Regions from separate parts of the Homo sapiens genome. Here region 2 is linked to region 1. The links are contacts of gene promoters, found by promoter capture Hi-C in blood cells and fetal thymus (Javierre and others, 2016). All regions are on one chromosome and are shown on one strand. The core of a region is centred on a gene start or on the middle of the fragment in contact, and the rest is flanking DNA. Distances in the headings are between cores, read along the strand shown.

Region 1 (6,502 bases), core at 2,158-4,657:
TCATAATTTTTGGTTAAAAGCTGGACATGTTGTGTAGGAGTAGAGATTGAGGTAATTTTTATGACTGGAAATGAGCACGCCTGTTCTTTGTGAGGCCTTTGGTGAAGGGTTTGTGTTAATCTGGTTAGGAGTTGGACTTAGTTTATGATTTGTTTTTGCCATAGTTATCCTCAGTGTATTACAGCCTTCATGAATCTGCAGAACAGTTTGTCTCTCTGGTGGGCGATGGTTTACTAGAGCAATGCCTGTTTGATTCTTTGTGTTGTGCCTCTTTGCATAATCTTGTTCCTTTCCTAGTAGTATTTTGTGGGTTACTTGTTACTGAAAGCTTCTTAGCTTGGTGGCAGGGGGTTGGGGGTGGGGGATACAGTCTGATGTTCTGATTAAGTCTAAGTCAAACACTGTGTTCCTGAATCTCAGGAGGGCAGCACTCTCGGTTCTGTTGACCACTCCCGACTGCAGTTTTGGGCTCAGGGCCCCTCCTCCAGGCATAAGATTCTCTCCCACTTCTCATCTACCCCCTGAATGTTCACCAATGGGGCCAACAGAGATACCCTTCTCCCCAGAGATTAAAGCTTTTTTCCATAGAAGAGGCAGAGGGGAAGAATCACAGCAGTTTCTTGACCCTCTTAAAAGTTCTGTTGCTGTTCCTCTCCCTCTCAATCTGCACAGCAGACTCACCCAGGGTTCTTTCCAGTCTTTTCTAGTAGACCCAGGGAGGTTTGTGGATAAGAGTTTGCAAGATTGTGCATTCAGCTTTCATCATGCTTTTTGTCCAGTTGTGTCTGAAGACGGTAAACAGAAATTGACATCTACTCTCTGTAAGCACTGTCTCTCAAATTTTCAGCCAGTGGTTTTGCTCTGTGGACTCAGCTCTTTAATAGATTTCAAAAAAGTCATGAATTTGTAGTGTAGGTCTTTTTTTGTTGCAGAAGTGAGAGCAAAGCTTCTTTTTTTGTCTCAGGGCCAAAGCCAGAGGTAGTTACATTATTTATAAACTAAAGATAGCAAAGAAGGTGTTACTAATTATTTTTTATAAAAAGGGAGCCTTTATTGGGTCTAATAAAGTTGAGAAACACTGACTCAAGGAACTCTTTCAAAATATTAATAACTCCCCTTTAACTACTGCCATGTTTTACAGTGAACATTTAGGCCAAAACCTATTTGTAGCAACCAAATTTGTGCTGCAGTTTATCTGCACAGCCTTGTTTCAATTACTAATTTAAAGTACCTCAATCAGAAGCAGGGGAAAGGTATGTGTAGCAGAAACCTCATATTCACCTGTGTAAACAGAACTGGTTGAGGAATGAAGCCAAATTAGTTAAAACACATCTTTTCAATTTCAACCCTAATTTGGGACCTATTGAGAACCGGACTCCACTATCAACCTTTTAACAAATTTAATAAAGCCAGTATTGTTACAGTCCACCTGGGCAAGGCAACCATCTTCTATTTATTTGTGGATAAAGTTAAATTATTCCAAACAATTCATTCACTTATTAATATTTTATTTTTTAGCTTAAGTATTTTGTTTACAACTAAGCTTGTTAACAATATATAACATTAATATATTTTAGACTATTTATTACTACCACTTTAGAAAAAGAGGAATATTCATTGCCTCTCAGTGGAATACAAATGCTGATATTTTCCATGAACTGAACTCTAGCCTTAAGGTTCTTTACATTCTTATTTCTTAATAATCCTCTGACTCCTCTTTTCCTCCCTTAATATGTTCTACTTCCTGTTTTCAAACAAGGAGTATAATGTAATAATTTCTACACAAGGACGTGTGTTGCCTGAATGCATTGTGATACTAACAGCACAAGCCAAGTCTGAGATATAGTAGCTTAAAAAGCGTTTCACATTACACAAAATGTGAACAAGGTTTTACGTTATATGATAGATAAGCCAATAAAGTACTTTCCAAAAATCAAAGAACTGTGTTCTGGATACCGAATTTCTGACAAGTGGTTTCTATAAATTTATTTTTTTAAGGCAAATTCTGTTTCATACTCCCATAAACTCAAAGTACTGGTAATATATTATAAAACCTTATCACTGTAATTTTCCCTGCAGGCAGTAGTTTCAAACCTAGAAACCTATCAAGTCCATAAACTGAGAAAGAAAATATAGTAAGAAAGAATTACTGGGGGCAGGTTCTGAACTTCTACTTTTTTCCCCAAGACACTGTATTACAAAAGGCTCAACATAACTGTACACTATAAAGCCCTTCATAGAGGACGCAACAGCATCAGGTACAGAACCTCCTTTTTGAGGGAAATCAGAATAACGTAAAAGGGAAAAGCAGAGGGAAAATGAGAAATAATTACTTTGGGAGACCACCGCCACATTAGGGTGAAATCTTTACTTTTTTCCCCCCTCTAAGCAACGGACACAGGAAACAATCTTAAGACAAACGTGGTTAACGGAACACGCTACAAAAGGAGAAAATTTAAGGGAAGGCACTCTTAAACATAGTTAAGTATCAAGTGATTAACAGCCACTTCACTGAGCGTCTAAGTCCTACTTTACCCACTCCAAAGGCCACATTCAAAGATAAAATCACAGCAGCGGAGGAAAGGCCACGTGAATAAGCTGCCTTGCAGGAAGGAAAAGCCTTAGGGGAGAAAATGATTTTAGAAAAAGTACTGGAGAACAGACGACGCGGATGCTCATTTCCTAACAAAACGAAACAAAGCAAAGAAAGTCAGTCTGCAGGACTTGTTCGGAAGGAGGGTCGCTGACCCAAGGAAACAAGAGTTGCCGGCATCCAGCAGGAAGGGTGCTCAGACTAGGAGACTGGAAGGGAATCCCGAGGGCGGAACCCACAAGGGAATGAAGAGCCTGTGGGGTAAGGATATGTTAAGGCGAGTGGAGGAGCGTACTAGGTATAAAACAAGCAAAAAAAAGGGGTGGGGCTGGACAGGGCAGCGCCCTGAGCTAATGTCACTCAAAGCCGGGGGGGCGTCCAACGAAAGGAACCAGACCAGCAGCCTGGGGGAAGGGTAATCTGCTTCCTTAGCAGCTGCAGGCTGCAGCAGCCAAGACCACCCCGTTTTCCCTGCCCTGAGCCCCACAAAGTCCCCACGGCGTGGGAAGGGAGTAAGGCAGAGCCCCAGAGCCCAGTGCCCGGAGTCGGCTTTACCTTCGCGGGAGGCTGGAGAGGCTCCAGCCCTAGCTCCTCCCGCCGCCGGCTCAGCTTCCAGAGTGGGATGAGGCGCCCTCCGGCCTCCTCACCCTCACCACTTCCCCTTTCCCCCGCCGGGGCCCTGCAGCTCCGCTGCCGCGGGTTCCTGGTGCCGCCGCGGCGCTGCCTCCCCGCCCCCTCCGCCTCCTCCCTCTGCCTCTCAGAGTTTCACTCTGGAGGCCGCCATCTTCGCTCAGGCTTTGAGCGAGCGCGCTCTAATACGCCTGCGTCGCCACCGCCCAGGCTGTCACGAGACCCAGTCAGCTGATTTCAACTCTTCCGTCTTCTGCCCCGCCCTCCCCGTCCTCCCCGTCCCGATCGTTCTTTCCCTGAAATTCTGCTTTCCTCCGGCCAGCCCCCAGCAGCTACACATGCGCAGAGTAACGACACCGGCCGTGGGATTTGGATTCCACGCAGCGCGTCAGGGGGCTGGCGCCTCGGTGGGTGCTGAAAAGGACACGCCCCTGGGCGCGCGCGGGTGCCCATGACCACGCCCCTCCGGCGGGTGCCCATGACCACGCCCCTCCGGCGTGTGCCTTAGGGCCGCGCCCCTCCGCTTATGTCCTGCGGAGAGTAGGGTCGCAACCCGGTACTTAAGCTTTAAGTCCGAGGAAATCTTGTTTTAAATCACCTCTTTTTAGCTCTTGCCGTCAAGTGCCATGGAGCATCTGCGAGGCAGTCTGAAGCCTCAGCCTATCTCCTGGTTTGGCTGGATTGGGAGCCAGCAGGTTCATTTACTATTGAGACGTCCTGAACGACAGCAGAGCAGGGTTTAAGTTATGGATGCTCTGGAAGGTCTCAGAGACCAAATTCTCAGAGACGCCTAAGGCATTTGCAGGTGGGAATGCTGGAAAGATAGTTCTGGTAGCCCCATTTATTGTGTCCGGATCAAGTGTTTAGAAGTTTACTTAAAGCTGCTTAATCTTCAACTCTCTGAGATACGAATCATCCTCGTTTTGCAGATAAGTTGAGGCCCAGCCTCAGAGTAGTGGATTTCATGTTTGCACCCAAGTAATTTGAACCCAGAACCTGTGCCCTCTAGATAACCATCTTCCTGAACCTCACCTGAGAGGGAAGTCAGGGCAGTGAAAAGAGGGGATATTGGGACTAAAGGATTCGGCTAGAAATTATGTGTTATCTGTGGGCAATGGTTTAAATAAGAAAGGTCAATGTCCACTCCCAGATCTGAGCCGTAAAGACCACAGTTTAAAAATTAGTGATTAAAAAAAAAATAGTGATTCTGCTGCAGACTTCAGAGTAGAGGCAGTGTAGGGTGACCTGCATGGATACATTATTGTATAAGGGTTAAAGGTCTCTGATAAGGAGTTGAATACTCATTCTTCATGGCAGTCCTGAAATTGTGATTTCTTGGCGTCCCCTTCAGCAAGTTGGCTCATTTTATAGACAGCGATTGCAGGATGAAAAAATGTGGAAAAATGGTTTTTACAGACTTTACCTCTTGATTCTATTAACCCTTTGCCCTACCTTAGGGCGGAAAAAGACTATTTGTGTTTATCCTTAGACTTTTCTGTAATGCAGCAGTAAGATAAGGTGCATGTAAGGGAAGGTACTAGGAATAGCTGGGTGTGGGAAGACAGAACCCGAAATAGAGTAGGAAGGGAGGAGGAGGAAAAAGAAACAGGAGGGCTGTGTTAAGGGGCCTTATTGGCTTATCCCATGGAAACAGAAACGTGTTTATGTGGTTACAAAGCCTTCCAGTAATCCCAAAAGTAAATGTGGGGTATATTATTTCGATTTTAGAGAAGCAGCAGACCCAGAGAGTCCAGGAGACTTGCTAAAGGTGACCTAACTCCTAAAGGTTGAGCCAAGATTAAGACACAGGGCCTGCCTGTAACATCAAGGCCAGTGAACTGTTCAACCTCCACACTGCCTCTCTGTTCAATATTTGAGACCAATAAAATCAATTCTCGTGTTGAGAGGAGCCTTAGGCATCATGAATTGTCCCCATCCTCTGTAGTGCAAAATTGCCTCACAAGACATCTTTTTCCATTGCATTTTTATAAGCCATTTTCCTTGTATTCAGCCAACTTGCACTCTCTTCTATGAGTAGTTATTTTGTCTTTGTTTCTTGCTCTTTTCTTCTTGTATGTGACATTCATTTAAGCACTTATCAGTACAGCTTATCACCCTTTCCCACTCCCTCTCCCGTGCATATCCTTCTAACTACCCCTGCTACAGATACTCATTTTAAGAAACCATATTCAAAGTACTTTCAACCATTGTTCACAAGATGTAGTTTCAAGCCTTTTCACAACCACTGGTTGCTTTTAATTGGATCCATACAATTGGATCCTTCTTAAAATGCCACAACAAAATACAAGAGTCAGGGAGAGTAGGACTTGTCTCTTCTTTCCCTATTAGGTTAAATCAGTTGGATCCTTTCCCCACCCAACTCTTTTTTAAGAGTGACAAATGCACACTTCTTTTTCTGGATTTGTCTTTTTATTCATAATTAAAGTTTGCACTAGCGTTTCTGACACTTTCATAGTGCAGATGTATCAAATTTACAATCTAAATTATGTGATGTACACTTAAAATATTTCACAGCTTTTTAAAAAATACATTTCACAGCCTTTTAGGCACCAATAGCCTTTATCAGTCTCCAAAGTTAGCATACAAGGCTGGAGTGATCTAAGACTTTAGAGAGCCCACAAGAATGTCAAACACTTGCTTATCTAATTCCCATTGCTGCTAAATTGACCTTCCTAATTATATCAATGCCCAGATCCAAAGTAAATCCTTAAGAACTCATACCACTCAACAATGCTTGAACTATGTTTTCAGTACAGTAGCCACTAGCCCTATGTGGCTACTGAACACAGAATAAAAATTAAAATTGTTACAAAAAAATGTAAAATGTTGCATTAGCAATTTTTATATTGATTACACGTGTTAAAAGAAAAAAATATTTAGGCCGGGCACGGTGGCTCACGCCTGTAGTCCCAGCACTTTGGGAGGCTGAGGCGGGTGGATCACCTGAGGTCAGGAGTTTGAGACCAGCTTGGCCAACATGATGAAACCCCGTCTCTACTAAATATAAAAAAATTAGGCGGGCCTGGTGGTGCATACCTGTAATCCCAGCTATTCGGGATGCTGAGGCAGGAGAATCACTTGAACCTGGGAGGGGGAGGTTGCAGTGAGCCGAGATGGTGCCACTGCACTCCAGCCTGGGCAACAAGAGTGAAACTCTCAAAAAAAAAAAAAGTATTATTTAATGATACTTGTTAAAGCTTGGTAATAGGCTGAGCATGATGGCTGACACCTGTAATCCCAAGGCTTTGGGAGGCCAAG
Region 2 (6,169 bases), core at 189-2,688, 2.1 Mb before region 1:
GATGCTTGGCGAGAAGACAAGCTGCCTTATGAGGATGTCGCAATACCACTGGTAGGTTATGATTTGAGCTGAGGATGGGTTAAAGGTATTGATCTGGCAGTAACTAGTGGAGGAGGGATATCAATGGAAGATAAACTAGTGTGGCAAAGAAATCAAAGCTGTGGAATTCTCTAACTCTAGAAGCTTCTGGAGAGCATCCAGTTGTATGTTTTATTTGAAGAAAAATGTGGTTCAGGGAGCTAACATGGCCAGGTCAGTTAGGAGTCATGCCAGGACTAGAGCCCCGATTTTCTGAGCCATGTTCTGTCCACCACACGAAAACCAGAGAAACCAAATAATGAGAGTTTAATGCGCAAGATGGGGAAGAACAAGAAGCAGCAGCATATGAGCTCTGTTTCTTACTTCCCTGCCTGTGGCTCATCAGTCTTTCAGCATTTTTAGAAACTTACATTCTTGGAGCATACACCTATCTTAGGTTCCCTGGAAAATATTCAGAAGATACCTGGGTATTCTTTTGCGTTTAGGCCAGTGGCCTTCTGGAATACTCTTTTCTTCCCCATCTTTGGAAAACTCTGCTGCAGGGAGTTTGTTAAACCTCATGTAATAAGTGATCCAAAAGTTTTGCTTATATAAATGTTTGTTTAAAATCCTATTTATGTCATAGAGGCCTAAAAAAGGGAAAACAGGACTGTTTTTCTTTAAAGCATGCCAGCTGCCCTGAGAAGAGTAGTTAGTATTGAATAAAATATAATTTATAGTTAGAATATCTGCTGTTGCTGTTTGCAAAGAAATAAAATAGTTCATCTGTATTTTCATTTACGAATAAGAGATAGTAATATGTTCAATGAATAATATACATATCAAATAAGTCATAGCTTAGTTCAAGCTTAGGAAAATAGTCAAAAGAGAGAGCATAATAAGAATTATAGATGTCATTTATTGAATACCAGTTTTATGCCATGGACTGAGGTTGGAAATATACATTATCTCTAATTCTTAAACAACCCTGTGAGGGAGGTGCTGTTATTCCCATTTTATAGGAAAAGAATAGGATCAGAAAGGGCAACTTGCCCAAAGTCTGGTAGCAGGTAAGTAGGGCTTCATATAACATATACCTAGGTCTGTGAAGTTCCAAATCCTGTCTTGTGAACTTCTGTTCATTCATTCATTTGACAAGCATTTTTTGAAGCCTACTGTGTGCCATAAGACTATGTGAACATAAGATACAGTTCCTCCTCCTGAGGGGTCTAGAAAGGCAACACTTATAGATAAGTAATTGTGATAATAAATATTCTAGGTGGGGGCATAAACAGCCACATCATATACGAAGTGGCTGATTGCCTGGTGGGCATCAGAAAGGCTTCTGAGAGAATGTCATGTTTAAGCTGGGTCATAAGGAAGGACCAGAAGTTTAGTGGAGGTAGACAAGGGTATTGCAGCAGAGGGGACAGATGTGTAAAGGCCCAGAGTTTTGAAAGGCTTTGGGACATGGTGAGTCATTCACTGTGGATGAAGAATACATTTGTCACATAAGTAGGCTGAAAAGTTGGGCTTGGATCAGATTGAGAGTGGTATTTGATATCACACTTAGACCTCATCCTCAGGAGATCCAGGAATGAATGGTCTTAAAAGCAAGACTGCTATGCTCAGATTTGGCTTTTGGAAAATCAGTTTAGCCAGCATTGTTAGAGATGGTGTGACATGGAGATAGGGGCAAGTGAGACCAATTGGCAAGCTGTTGTGGTCTAGGCAAGGGAGGAGGGCCTAAACAAAGTCAAGAAAATAAAGGAGACGTCCATTTCTGGAGAAGTTTATGGCTCAGATTGGAGAACATTTGGGTGGCAGGGGTGGAAGGAGGTTTCCCTGCTGACTTCCAGGCGAAGTTGGCTTGGCCCTGCTGCTAATCCACACCTTTCGCTTGTCTTGCGATTCTAAGGCAATGTGTATGCCAGTTAGGTTTTGCTGCATAACAAGTCACCCCAAAGCTTAGTGACTTAAAAGAGCAACTGTTTATTTCATGATTTTGTAGCTCAGCTGGGAGGGACTTCTAGTCTGCACCAGCTCAGCTGATCCCTGCCAGGCTTGCCTGTGTTGTGCAGTCAGCCAACAGACTCTGGAGGCTGGGTAATCTAGGACTGTCTCACATGTCTGGCAGTTAACAAGCTGTCTGCTGGGTGATGGGGTGACTATGCCATGGTCTCTGGTATCCAGCAGGCTAGCCCAGACTTCTCAATCTCAGGGTTCCAAGAGCAACCTGAGAGGAAACGGCAGAGCTTCTTGGAGCTTAGGCCAAGAACTGGCCCACTGGCATGACAGCTTCATTCTGTTGGCCAAAACAACTCACAGGGCCAGTCCAAATCCAAGATTGGGGAAATCAGTTTCACCTTTTGATAAGAGTAGCTGCAAAGAACTAAGGGCATTTTACAGTACACCATAATGGGTGGCTGGGTTTATGATACTTTTGTTTTTGTTTTCCAGGCATATATGCCATTTTATGTGTTGGCATGTATTGCAAGGGACAGTAGATACCAAATGAAAGACACATTATTTTAGAAAGCATACCACAGATAGGATGAAATTAAGCAACGTTGTCTGCTTCTGAATTAAAGAATTCATTAACCAAGGACCTATTTATTCTTTGTCATCTATAAGTAATTATTAGGACTGAACTTTCTTTTTAAGTTTAAGATAATATATTATTGCGTTACAATAAATGATAGCTCTTCTCAATCTGTTCAAGTATGTTTGAATCTGTCTTGTAGAACAAGATGTATGTGATTCAAATATAGATAAGTAAATATCATTTAATATATATTGAGCATAATTTTAGAGGGGAAAACATATTCACATACTACAAATTAGAATCCAGTGGAAAATTTTAAGTCTGGATATCGCATAACAGTTTGCTAACCATAAAACAAAACACAGATAATTGAAAAGAAATATATTGGTATCTGTGAACTCTGGTACAAAGCAGAGTTTCAGTAGTAATACATTTAAACTTAAAATACAAGTAAATGATCCCAGATCCTACAGTAAGTGTGGCCCATGACTTACCATTTTAAGAAAATTGCTGGTAGGGTGTGAATTGGTCATTTGTTGTGTTTTTTGTTGCTCTGCTCCACCACTAGAGGGAGGTCTTATCTATTAATTACATTTTCAGTGTTTCCTGCCCTACCTCCATTTTTATTATAATATAGACATGTTGGGCCAGGCGCGGTGGCTCGCGCCTGTAATCCCAGCACTTTGGGAGGCTGAGGCGGGTGGATCACCTGAGGTTGGGAGTTCGAGACCAGCCTGACCAACATAGAGAAACCCCATCTCTACTAAAAAAAAATAAAAAAATACAAAATTAGCCGGGCATGGTGGTGCATGCCTGTAATCCCAGCTACTCGGGAGGCTGAGGCGGGAGAATCGCTTGAACCCGGGAGGCAGAGGTTGTGGTGAGCCGAGATCACGCCATTGCTCTCTAACCTGGGCAACAAAAGCAAAACTCCATCTCAAAAAAAAAAGACATGTTGGGTCCAAGATAATTTTTTGGATACATTTCTTGTGTCTAAGGAATATGCCAGCAAACTAGTATTCTTTTAAAGCACGCTCCCGCTAAAGAAGATTTAGGATTCACTCATCTCAGTGTTCCTAGCCGCTAATAATAATAGCAAATATTCCTTGAGCACTGGATACCCCACAGAGTGCTCAGCACTTGATCTGAATTACCTCACCTAATCCTTACAGTAGTCCTGTGAGGTGATGGCTCTTTTGTTCTCCCATTTGCCAAGGAAGAAACAAAGGCCCCAAGGGTTTGCATACCTTGCCCAAGTAACCCAGCAAATGGGAGAGTTGTGGTCTTGGATCCTAGTTGGCTTCCAAAAGCCTCTGCCCTTAACCTTTCTGCCACAGTGCCTCCTTCACAAATGTCAGAGTCAAAATGCCCATCATTCCCTACTGAAGAAGGCCCGGGCCATGTTTGAATGATACTTCTGATAGTTTCCTCACGTGTATGATTTTAGCTTTTTTAGAATACACATATCAATTATGTTGCCTGTTCCTAGGAACTCACAAGCTTTAATTCTAAGTGTTCTTGAGTTCCAAGAAGATGCAGAATATATTACTGTTCTGAATTTCTATTGTACCTTTTCAGAATGAGCTTCCTGAACCTGAACAAGACAATGGTGGCACCACAGAATCTGTCAAAGAACAAGAAATGAAGTGGACAGACTTAGCCTTACAGTACCTCCATGAGAATGTTCCCCCCATTGGAAACTGACGCTTGGCTCCTTTCTTGTGGATGGATTTTCTCAAAGTACACAGATAAAGCATGGTTTGTTTCAGTCTCCAAATTCAAACCTTTGAGTAATAAATCAGCACTCAAAAATGTACACCCATTTAGTTTGTGGTAGCAAAGTGCAATGCGAAATTGAATGAGAAACTGAGATTTCTCAGTAATGGTGAATATTTCGCTCTTTAAACCTAAAACTCTTCATTGAGTAGCTTATATTTGAACATGATTGGTTAAACATTTGCCTCTACCTCTGATTTTGCTTTGCTGTCAAAGTTTAACACCTTCCAACTACTTATGTGTGTCCTGTAACACAGGTGATTGAACGTATGAGAGGGAAAGGCAAAGAAAAAGGAAGCCAGACACTAGGAGAATTATTAACTTCTCATACTTCCCCACATTGAGAAGCATTCGGAGTGTATTTAGCCTGTAGATGTTGTGATATGCAAATATCCCATTCCCTGGTTACTGGCATTCCTAAGATTCTTCATGGTATTTTCAAACTTTGGATAAATTTACAGATTAGAAAGATATCTGACAGTTAATCTCTGTTCTCCTTACAAATTCCTTTTGTGCTGCTGGAAAGGATCTTTGGCTAGGTGGATGACTAGTTTTATTCAAAGCCTTTTCTCAAAGCCCTTTCAGTTACAACCACCCCACTATGGAATCAGTATTTAGTTATACATTTGTATAAGAACCTGTATTTTGAAAAACACATTCATGTATATTTATTCCTGGAATTATTTGCCTGTTAAACAGTGTCTTTCATGTTCTCTCCCCAGATTGTAAACTCTGTAAGAAGCTGCTTGTATCTGTATCCCTTGTTGAAACTCTGAAAACACTGAATAACTAAAATCTCTTCTCATCCTTTTTATGCTGGGTCTTTTTGTTTACTTAGCTTTTAGGAGGAAGAGGTACATGAAAAAACAAATTAGCTTATTTTAGGTTTTCAATCACAAACATGATTTTAGCAGCTATCCTATAATCCAGATACATCCAGGCTGATTTCTTCTCTTTGCATCAGTAGTTCTGCCTAGAAATCTTTTATCTTCAGAATAAAGACCCCAAGGCACCAGTCCCTTCAGTAAGCAAAGAAAGACAACCTAATAGAAAAGAGACTTACAATATTAAAAAAACTTATACAAGAGAAAAAGCTTTTCAAAAAATTAAAATACCTAGAACGCCACAGTTCTTTCACATTCTTGTTAAATGAGGATTTTACAGCTTACTTGTGGTATGTAATCTCTGAGACACTAACATCTAAGAACTTGACAAATGTTCATGTGAATCCTGCCTAGCCTTTCCCTGGAATATTAGTAGACCAGTAAAATATGAAAGCTATTCTTGATTTCTGCTGAACCAGAATATGATATCTGTAAGACAGCTGTTGGTTTGTGTCTATGACACTCATCCGAGAACTGCCGCCACCCCCAGGAATAGCCTCTGGGCAAGTTCGTAACTTGTGTTATGGTGCCAGAACTGTAGCTCATTGTATCAGGAATTAGGTGACCTAATTTGGGCTAGTCAGATTTTGTCAACCAGGGCTTCGAAATCTCCGTCTAGGACTGGCTTGAGGATGATGGGCACAAGAAATGCTAAGTTGCTGTTACAGGGTAGCTTTCTTCAATTGTCTGTACCAAAACACCCAAAAAGGAAAGTATCTGGAGAGGGAGGCCAAGAGGCTATGTGGCCTATTGGTTCCTGACAGCTTTCCAGTTTAGAGCCTGCATATTGCTTTTCTCTGTGGGAGGCACCATGCCTGGCACTGGGAGTATAGCAATGAACAAAGTAAGTGTGGCCTCTCCCTTCATGGAGCCTTTAGTTGGGGAGACAGGCATTAAACCATTAGCCATACAAATACATGATTTCAATTTGGGGCGTATGCTAGGA

The links. The method cuts DNA at HindIII sites, captures the fragments that hold promoters and counts their contacts. A CHiCAGO score of 5 or more calls a contact.
Region 2: a fragment that was not itself captured here is called in contact with the fragment with the promoter of DNAJC13 in region 1 in 1 of 17 cell types (fetal thymus); the score reaches 6.2 in fetal thymus.

What each region holds. Positions count from the first base shown.
Region 1 is chr3:132,414,407-132,420,908 of GRCh38, reverse strand. DNAJC13 (DnaJ heat shock protein family (Hsp40) member C13) reads right to left here and starts at 3,407. Exons shown (of 56, transcript NM_015268.4): 1 at 3,149-3,407. RefSeq lists enhancers at 2,543-3,078, 3,018-3,167 and silencers at 3,198-3,337, 3,618-3,717. The HindIII fragment of the contact is 2,245 bases long and covers 1,546-3,790 here.
Region 2 is chr3:134,476,688-134,482,856 of GRCh38, reverse strand. ANAPC13 (anaphase promoting complex subunit 13) reads left to right here. Exons shown (of 3, transcript NM_015391.4): 2 at 1-51; 3 at 4,142-5,151. The coding sequence ends at 4,267. Among named protein-coding and RNA genes, the nearest start is that of ANAPC13, 6.2 kb to the left of the region's middle. The HindIII fragment of the contact is 1,099 bases long and covers 889-1,987 here.